Linked DNA regions of Homo sapiens: all the other regions are linked to region 2. The links are contacts of gene promoters, found by promoter capture Hi-C in human tissues and cell types (Jung and others, 2019). All regions are on one chromosome and are shown on one strand. The core of a region is centred on a gene start or on the middle of the fragment in contact, and the rest is flanking DNA. Distances in the headings are between cores, read along the strand shown. Region 1 overlaps ENPP1 (ectonucleotide pyrophosphatase/phosphodiesterase 1). Region 2 holds the start of ENPP1 (ectonucleotide pyrophosphatase/phosphodiesterase 1). Region 3 overlaps ENPP1 (ectonucleotide pyrophosphatase/phosphodiesterase 1).

Region 1 (2,700 bases), core at 134-2,633, 42 kb before region 2:
AGCTAATATAGTTGGCCAATAGCCATGACTCCTAATATAAAAGATAACACCTATGTAAAGCCCCGCTAAGACGCTGGAAGATACCAGGCTGCTGCAGAGCCCAACGAGCACCTGACCTTGACACACAGAACTGTAGTTGATGCAGCAGTCGCCCTTGTCCTTGCAGTCATCTGAACAGGCACAGAGGCTTCTGGTCAACCTTTTCTCACCACACCTGAATTTGTTGCAAGTCCATATATGTTCTAGAAACAAACATCAGCAAAATGTGTTTTATGTCTCAAATTCAACATGTCCAAAGTGAACACAGAATTGCTGTCTTCCTGAGTATGATCCATGAGCAACAATGAACAATTTCACAGCTCTTAGTCACTCACAGAATCTGCCACTACCATGGCCACTCTGAACTAATGGGGTAAAATATGTAGGAACCAATTATTATTATTTCACTAAAAGTCCAGAATTTTGTCATTTTCAAATTTAGATGCACCTTACCATATGCAATTCATATGTAGACCTGGCTTCTTCTACCTGCTAAAATTTAATCTAAGTCTGACTCTCAGGTCAAGGTGAGAGGATTGCTTGAGGCCAGGAGTTTGGGATCAACCTGGGCAATGTAGTGAGACCTCATCTCTACAAACATTTTAAAAATTAGCTGGGCATAATGGTGTGAGCCTGTAGTTCCAGCTACTTGGGAGGCTGAGGCAGGAGGATCTCTTGAGCCCAGGAGTTCAAGGTTGCAACGAGCCATGGTCGAGCAACGGCTCTCCAGCCTGGGTGACAGAACAAGTCCCTGTCTTTAAAAAATAAATACTAATGAAAAATAAATAAATCTCTCTCATTTAAAAATTATTCCATGTCATATGCAGAGAATTCCAAATCTAACTAAGAAAATTTTCATATTCTGATAGTTTTATTTTGAAAAATATAGGTGGACATATAAGATCTCTTGCCGTCAAAGAACCATAATGAAAATATTTCTATATTTCAAGCAGGCTTTTAGAATTTGAATGCAAATTAGATTACAAAGGCTTTCAGCATACATTAAAAATAGACAAAGTTCTGCTATCCATAAAATGTTTAACAGAGAAATTCTGTAAATTTTTTTCTCTTAAGGAACTGTTGAAAGAAAATATAAAAGCTAATGTCAAAACGTGTATGTATGCTAAACTAAAAAAAATTCAAATGAATTAGGTAAATCACATACCTGAAAGACACAGAACTTTCCTTGATCTTTTCCTAATGACCATAACTCCACTTTTTTCCCTGCTCATCCTTACCTGGTTCTATGCACGTCTCCTGGTAATCTAAACAGCAGTTTCCAAGCTCAACACAGGCAGCATCACAGCGACAGTTCCCAAATGTTCTCTCGAAACAGCGACCTTTGCAACTTTTAACTGAAAAAATTGAACGATAAGTCAGATGTTTCTAATCATTATATAATTCAAAGTAAACATCAACGAATACAACTAAGTTAGGTGTACACTAGGTTCAAATACTACTTTAGAAAATACAGATGGGGTAATAAAGTAAGGCAAAAATCTTTTCACAAATACACACAAAAAGTGATACAAACAGAAAGTAACCTTATGTGCCTGGTTTGTGATTTTTATCTCCTGATGTAGGAAAGAAAGATAACTTTTTAATGATTATTATTACAAACGTTACTGGGTCTGATAAGACTTAAATAACCATGGTGTGATAAAATAAAAGTCAGAATAAAGGCTTGTTCTGAATACTTTGTGCTATGAAAAAGTTGGCTTAAGCAGGCATGGGGTTCCCTAAAATTTCAAAATGTGGGAAAAATTTTTTTTAGAAGTGGTTAAGAATATTTTAGAAAGGAAAAGATTACCTAGCCTGCCTCACTCTCAATCCTGGTGTAAAGAAGTAGTGGGTTTGTTCAGAACATGCTCCCTGGCATAGCTCTTCCCTCCCTGACCTGAAACACCCATTTCACCTTTAGATCCAGACTGGCTCCCTCTAAAAAGCTTTCCTAACTCCCCAGCTAGGCCTGATTTCCATTTTTTTAAGCTCATATAAAACCTTGTCCTTCCCCTCAATTACTTAATTCCACACGTAACTAGGTTATTTGGTTAATATCCCAGTTAGACGGCAAACCAAGACCACATCTGGCTTTGCCCAGCATACTGTCTCCCTAAAACCCAGCCAGGTGCATGCCATATAGTTGAGATTAGCACATTTTTGCTAAATGAATAAATGGTAGACATGGGAGGAAAGTACTTTTCATGACAGTTTTTTACTGTTGAAGTTCATTACTAGATACCTTGAATAAGCCAGGTTTCACTGGAGAGCTAGAAAATTAGGACAATGAGAAAAAAAGAAAAAAAGGAACACATGGAAAATAAGGGACATCCAACAACAACAAAAAAGAAATAATCTTAGTTCTTGACTTTAATGGTGTTCTGACCCAAAAAGACACTGCCATGGAATTTACCTCTCATTTGACACTGGGAAATCAGGCAATTTTAAGAAGATGAAGTAACAATAATAATTTCTAGTGTCAGAAATACGAACTTTCCTGACCTGGAGTGGGGGTCAGGGAAGTCTATTGGAATAATAGCTATTACTTGGAGCTCATTAATATGCACCTAATAATTTTTAAAAATATGATGCATACTATGTTGGGCTTGGATTAAAATTGTTATTTTTCATTTTTAATTTGTATGTGTCAACTCAGGAGTG
Region 2 (2,700 bases), core at 136-2,635:
GTCTAGGAAGATTGATTCCTCAAAGTATTATAGCATCTCCATGATGTCCCAAATATAGTGAAAATGGAAATGCATACAAAATGAAAGGAGACTTGAAAAATTAGAAATTTTTCTACAAAGCATTATTCAATCATATGTAAGGGGATATATTTTAGGGTACACTATACATAGAAATCTGTGATTTCCATATAATACAATAAAAATGATTCTATTTCCTTGCTGTTTTCAATTTACTTCCCTACCTACATTCTTCAGCTTGATTTTCACAATAATCCCATGCAATGCACAAGGGAGTTGATGTTGTCCCATTTTCACACATTAGAAATTGAGGTTTAGGGACAGTTACGCAAGGCCTCAGCAAATAATAACAGCCAGGAATCCAGGCCTTCTCTCAATCAGCACTTCCCACCATGAATTCAGAATAAAAACCAACCCCCACATTTCATGAAGTTGACTGTGGGTCCTGCAAATGTCATAGCAAAATAGCAGAGGAGTAATAGGTAGCTTTTGTTAGCAACACAAACCGTGTAGCCTCTGGTTAGAAGAGTGGGCAAAGAATCATAAAGGTTTCTTCAGTCACATAATGTGAACATCCATGGAATTTCTGAGCACCTGCAAGGAAATTCCAAAACGGAGCGAAAGGGAAAAAGTGTTCCGTAGAGTTCCTAATAAAACTTAAAGAGCTCCGCTAACTCTTCAACTGCAATCAGTTAACCCAAGTGAAGTCATGTATACTGCGCCCAGAGCCCCCTAAAAGAAGCAACACATTGATGCACCTTCTTAAGACCAACAACTTTCGCGTTTGACATTTTTCTCCTCTAAAAACCCGTACTCTCCTGGGGCAGGGGGTCGAGTATTTCTAAGGATGACCGTTTTGAACAGCCTGCTTTCACAGGCATCCATAATTCAAGTGAGAGTGAACCATCCTGCCCTGGCAAGGTACCTGGCAGGGGCGGCTGTGTAGGGCACTTGCAAAGGCTGCGGAGGAGAGCGCGCGGGCGAAGAAGCACTCCCGGACCATGCCTCTCTCCGGTGCCCGGTGCTGACTGCGCTGAGAGCGCAGGAGCTCGGCGCCGCCCTCCCCGTACTCCCAGCCCTCCCGGGCGCCGGGGCCTGGCCGCGGACCTACCAGCGAGAGTACTTTATAGGTGTTGGGGTCCTTGGCAGTGCGGGCGCGCGCCGCCTTCTCCAGCGGCTCCTCCCCCACGTCCATAGGGGCCAGCAAGGACGCGGCCGCCTGCGGGTCCCCGGGCGCCTCGGCAGCGTGGCTGCGGCCCCGATCGCGGCCGTTCCCCGCCGGGCCCTCCCGGGGAGCGCGCCCGCCCTCGCCGCCGCGGCTCCCGCCCCCCGCGCAGCCGTCGCGCTCCATCGTGGCCCCGGCCGCTCCGGCCCCGCTGCCCGGCCGCGCCTTTAATAGGCCCCGCGCCGCCCGCCCCGCCCCGCCCCTCCCCGCCGCGCCCGCCCCTCGCGGTCAGATCCTTGGCTCCCCGCCCTACACCCGGCTCTCGCAGTCAGGGCAAAGCGACTCAACGCCCCGGATTATTTGGCTTCCTGTCTGATTTCGGGCACTCTGTGTGTCGGTTATTTTGGGTCCCTTACGTGGGCGTGTCTTAAACTTCCCCCCAAGCCGTCCCCTCCCCGCGCCCCGGCCACCCTCCCGACACTTGCAGGAATCGCCCTGCGTGGCCTCGCGGCGCGGGCTGGGCTGGAATTGCAGCGTGTGGTCTGCAGAGGGCATGAGATCATGGGGCCCCAAAATAGAGCGGGGAGGAGGAGAAGGATGCAGCCGCCGATGCCGGTCCGGCTTCTCAAAGGCGGGAGAGAGTGGAGTCTTGGGGTCGACCTGTGAGTTTCTGGATGGAAATGCAAATGAACCATGGAGGAAGGCGACTTTCTGTTTCTCCCCCTCTGCGCCCCGTCCCCCACTACCTACGGTACTCTGAGAGAGAAATCGTCCACTTAAAATACGTGGGTTCACATGTACTGAACACACGTAAGGGATATTTCGATTCCCACGGTTTTATGTGGTTTCTGGAGTCTTCTCGCTATTGTTTGTATGTATATTTGCTTATTTTTCTAGACTTTCTGTATTGAAGGTTTCAGGAGTTGGCGTTGCCCTCTCCTGAGGTTGACACTGATACCTAGCTATATCAAAAGTGTTAATGCAATCTGAAATACTTTGATAAGCCTTATTTTTCAACTAGGACGCTAACAGTGAGCTGATTCTTGGTGGGTTTTGTTTTACCTTTGATTCTGGAACTTGTACATTTTCTGGCTCATCACTTAGCAAAATCACCAGTGTGTAGTGAAGTGAGACAGAGGGAAACCAGTGACTTCGAACTACTTTGCAATACCCAGGACTGACTTCAGGTACCAAGGAAAACAATTAATTTTCAATACATTTTGAATACATGAATATATACAAGTGTTTACAAATGAGAATGAATGTTTAACAAATATAAAATGCATGTTATCCCTTTAAAATAGTCAACTTGGGATGCTCTTCATTTATACTGACTCATCCATCCACCCATCCATTTATTCATCAAGTAATGAATCCTTCAACTCAATCTTTTGGCCTCCAACTATGCATACCATATAAAAAATGAATTAAAATGTATCTTTCCTTAAGTGTGGTGGAAGCGGGGGTGGGGGGGTAGGACCAACTCGTAAACAAAATAATTAAAACCTAAGTCATAT
Region 3 (2,700 bases), core at 174-2,673, 61 kb before region 2:
GAGATTTAATCATAAAAAAATTAACTGTGATTCCCTTTAGTTTAGCGATATAATGATTTAAAGGAAGGTATTCTTTTTTTTTTTTTTTTTTTTTTAGACCAAGTCTCACTCAGTTGCCCAGGCTGGAGTACAGTGGCATGATCTTAGCTCACTGTAACCTCCGCCTCCTGGGTTCAAGCGATTCTTGTACCTCAGCCTCCAGAGCAGCTGGGATTACAGGCAGCTGCCACCAAGCCAGGCTAATTTTTGTATTTTTAGTATAGATATAGTATAGTATCGTATATGTATTTTTAGGGTTTCACCATGTTGGCCAGGCTGGTCTCGAACTCCTGACCTCAGGTGATCCACCCACTTTGGCCTCCCAAAGTGCTGCGATTACAGGCATGAGCCACTGTGCCCGGCCTAAAGGAAGGTATTCTTAATATGACCATATTCAAAGTTATCACAGAGATATACTTACATGAATAGTATTTATCTGGGACATCAGAGGGTCTCAATCGAGCTGCAGGTCCATAGATAACTTTAATATTTTTAACATCCCCCAAATATTTATTCAGATATATGTATTTCTTACAACTGCCTTGTTCCATGCCTAGGAGAAAAAAAAAATCCCAAAACATGCTGTAACTTTAACAAAAAATTTAATATGCAGAGCAGAACTTCTTTCACTTCCAAGGTTAAATTCGTTAAACATGGGTGTAGCACTCATATTAGTTGAAGATCTGATAGGTAAGACAGAATTTCAGCTGTACCTATCACTTCACTTTTTTCAAAATCTTTTCCGTCACCCAAATTTTGGTTAATGTTTCTTCTTATTTATATATTACAATATCATTATGTGAGCAAAGAAGAATGTCTTATCACATTTTTAGACCGAATGTGAAAGCCCAGTTATTTGCCCCAAACCACCTAGGATATTAACTGGGAGTGTATGTGTATGATTCACTCTCATTCCAAGACTGGTACTTCTTTGCATGTAACTTCTTAGGACTGCTTCTAAACACAGATTTCTATAATTATTTCTGAAGCAAAAAACAAGAACAAAAACAAAAAGAACCTATTTTCTATTTTCCATAGGCACGCTGCTCCTATAGTCCCCAAACTGTACACAAGCGTGTTACAAAGATCACAGTAAGTAAAAGTGAAAATATTATCAAAATTAATATATCATGCTTCTAAAGTCAGATTTATCAAGCTAAAGAAAATTGAAGGCTGGGCACGATGGCTAATGCCTGTAATCCCACTACTTTGGAAGGCAGCAGTGGGAGCTTGAGAGCAAGAGTTTGAGACCAGCCTGCTCAACATAGCAAGATCCCATGTCTACCAAAAAAAATTTTTTTTAATTAGCCAGGTGTGGTGGCACATGCCAGTAGTTCCAGCTACTCAGGAGGCTGAGGTAGGAGAATCACTTGAGCCCAGGAAGTTGAGGCTGCAGTGAGCTGTGATCATGCTACTGCACTCCAGCCTGGCTAACAGAATGAGACTGTCTCAAAAACAACAACAAAAAAAGGAAATTGAAGCTATAATAATCAGTTCCAACTAAATCTAAAATTGTAGAGTTACACAAATTTAATGTTGAAAATATATATTTTTTAGCTATTCAAATTCTTGGTGTATTGTGCTTGATAGGCACTTAGGTTTCTGTGAATTCTGTGTTTCACTTATATTTTATATTTAATGTATTTTTTTCCTAAAGACTGTCCATAAGAAACTACATTTTTAAAAAAGAATTAACTACAACATTCAGAAAAAATTGGGAAACCATCAAGTAAACTTTCTTCAGCCCTTTATCCTGAAGAGTAAATAATGCAAATTCAGATTACCATGATCTGAAATAAGGATGAGGTTCAGGCATCTGTGCAAGTTCAGCTCTTTCAGACCATCCATCAGCATACCAACCATACCATCAACCCTCTGCAAGGCTTTGATGACCTAAGAATGGGAAGCAACAACCTCATGTGATACCTTCCACACTAATGGCTATTTATACATAAAGCTATCTCTGTTAAAAAAAAAAAAAAAGAAAGAAACAAAGAAAGAAAGAAAGACAGACAGATAGATAGATAAGGGCCAGTGGATGCAACTACAATGAGCTGATTCACATTAGACTAAGACAGGTCAGGGTCAGAGATACAAAGAACAGTAAATAACTGCAGATCATTAACAATGCAAGAGTCCTAATTCTATACACGTTCAATTTTAAGTTTTGGGAATGAGATTAGCTGATCTATTCCTGAGGTCAGAATGCTACTACTTAGATTAGACCCAACTTAAGCCAAAATAATAATAGCTCAAATCTACAGTGTTTGGCCAGAAACCAATATGTTCTTAATTACCACTTCATTTTCCACAATTCATTTCTTCTTATACTTTCTGATCATTCAAATGGTCACTGTATAAATATGTTTCCTAATTTTCAAAAATGTTCAAATTATTCATGAAATGCTTCTTATAATTCAATGTATTTAATTTTCTAAATTAGAACTCATAGGAATATAACCCATTATTTCCTTACAAACTGCATGTATTTTACATATGAATATCACAAGAACACAGAATGACAAATGATATTGGCAAACTGCTTTCTGGCACTTATTTTATCCTCTCTCCTTGCAAAACCATTTGAGAAAAATTTTTGTGCAGTTTTGTGTATTTTCTGTAATGTGTGGAATCAGCTTAATCTTCATTCATTGTCAGTAT

Evidence for each region. Contacts are between HindIII fragments. The study calls those that stand out against the background at their distance.
Region 1: a fragment that was not itself captured here is called in contact with the fragment with the promoter of ENPP1 in region 2 in 4 of the 25 tissues and cell types used here (IMR-90 fibroblasts, mesendoderm cells, neural progenitor cells and 1 more).
Region 3: a fragment that was not itself captured here is called in contact with the fragment with the promoter of ENPP1 in region 2 in 1 of the 25 tissues and cell types used here (IMR-90 fibroblasts).

Annotation. Positions count from the first base shown.
Region 1 is chr6:131,848,684-131,851,383 of GRCh38, reverse strand. It overlaps ENPP1 (ectonucleotide pyrophosphatase/phosphodiesterase 1), which reads right to left. Exons shown (of 25, transcript NM_006208.3): 3 at 1,278-1,394; 4 at 117-242. Among named protein-coding and RNA genes, the nearest start is that of ENPP1, 42 kb to the right of the region's middle. The HindIII fragment of the contact is 8,629 bases long and covers 1-2,700 here.
Region 2 is chr6:131,806,705-131,809,404 of GRCh38, reverse strand. ENPP1 (ectonucleotide pyrophosphatase/phosphodiesterase 1) reads right to left here and starts at 1,385. Exons shown (of 25, transcript NM_006208.3): 1 at 1,130-1,385. The coding sequence starts at 1,369. The HindIII fragment of the contact is 10,154 bases long and covers 1-2,700 here.
Region 3 is chr6:131,867,250-131,869,949 of GRCh38, reverse strand. ENPP1 (ectonucleotide pyrophosphatase/phosphodiesterase 1) reads right to left here. Exons shown (of 25, transcript NM_006208.3): 12 at 1,824-1,932; 13 at 461-592. Among named protein-coding and RNA genes, the nearest start is that of CCN2-AS1, 33 kb to the left of the region's middle. The HindIII fragment of the contact is 5,038 bases long and covers 1-2,700 here.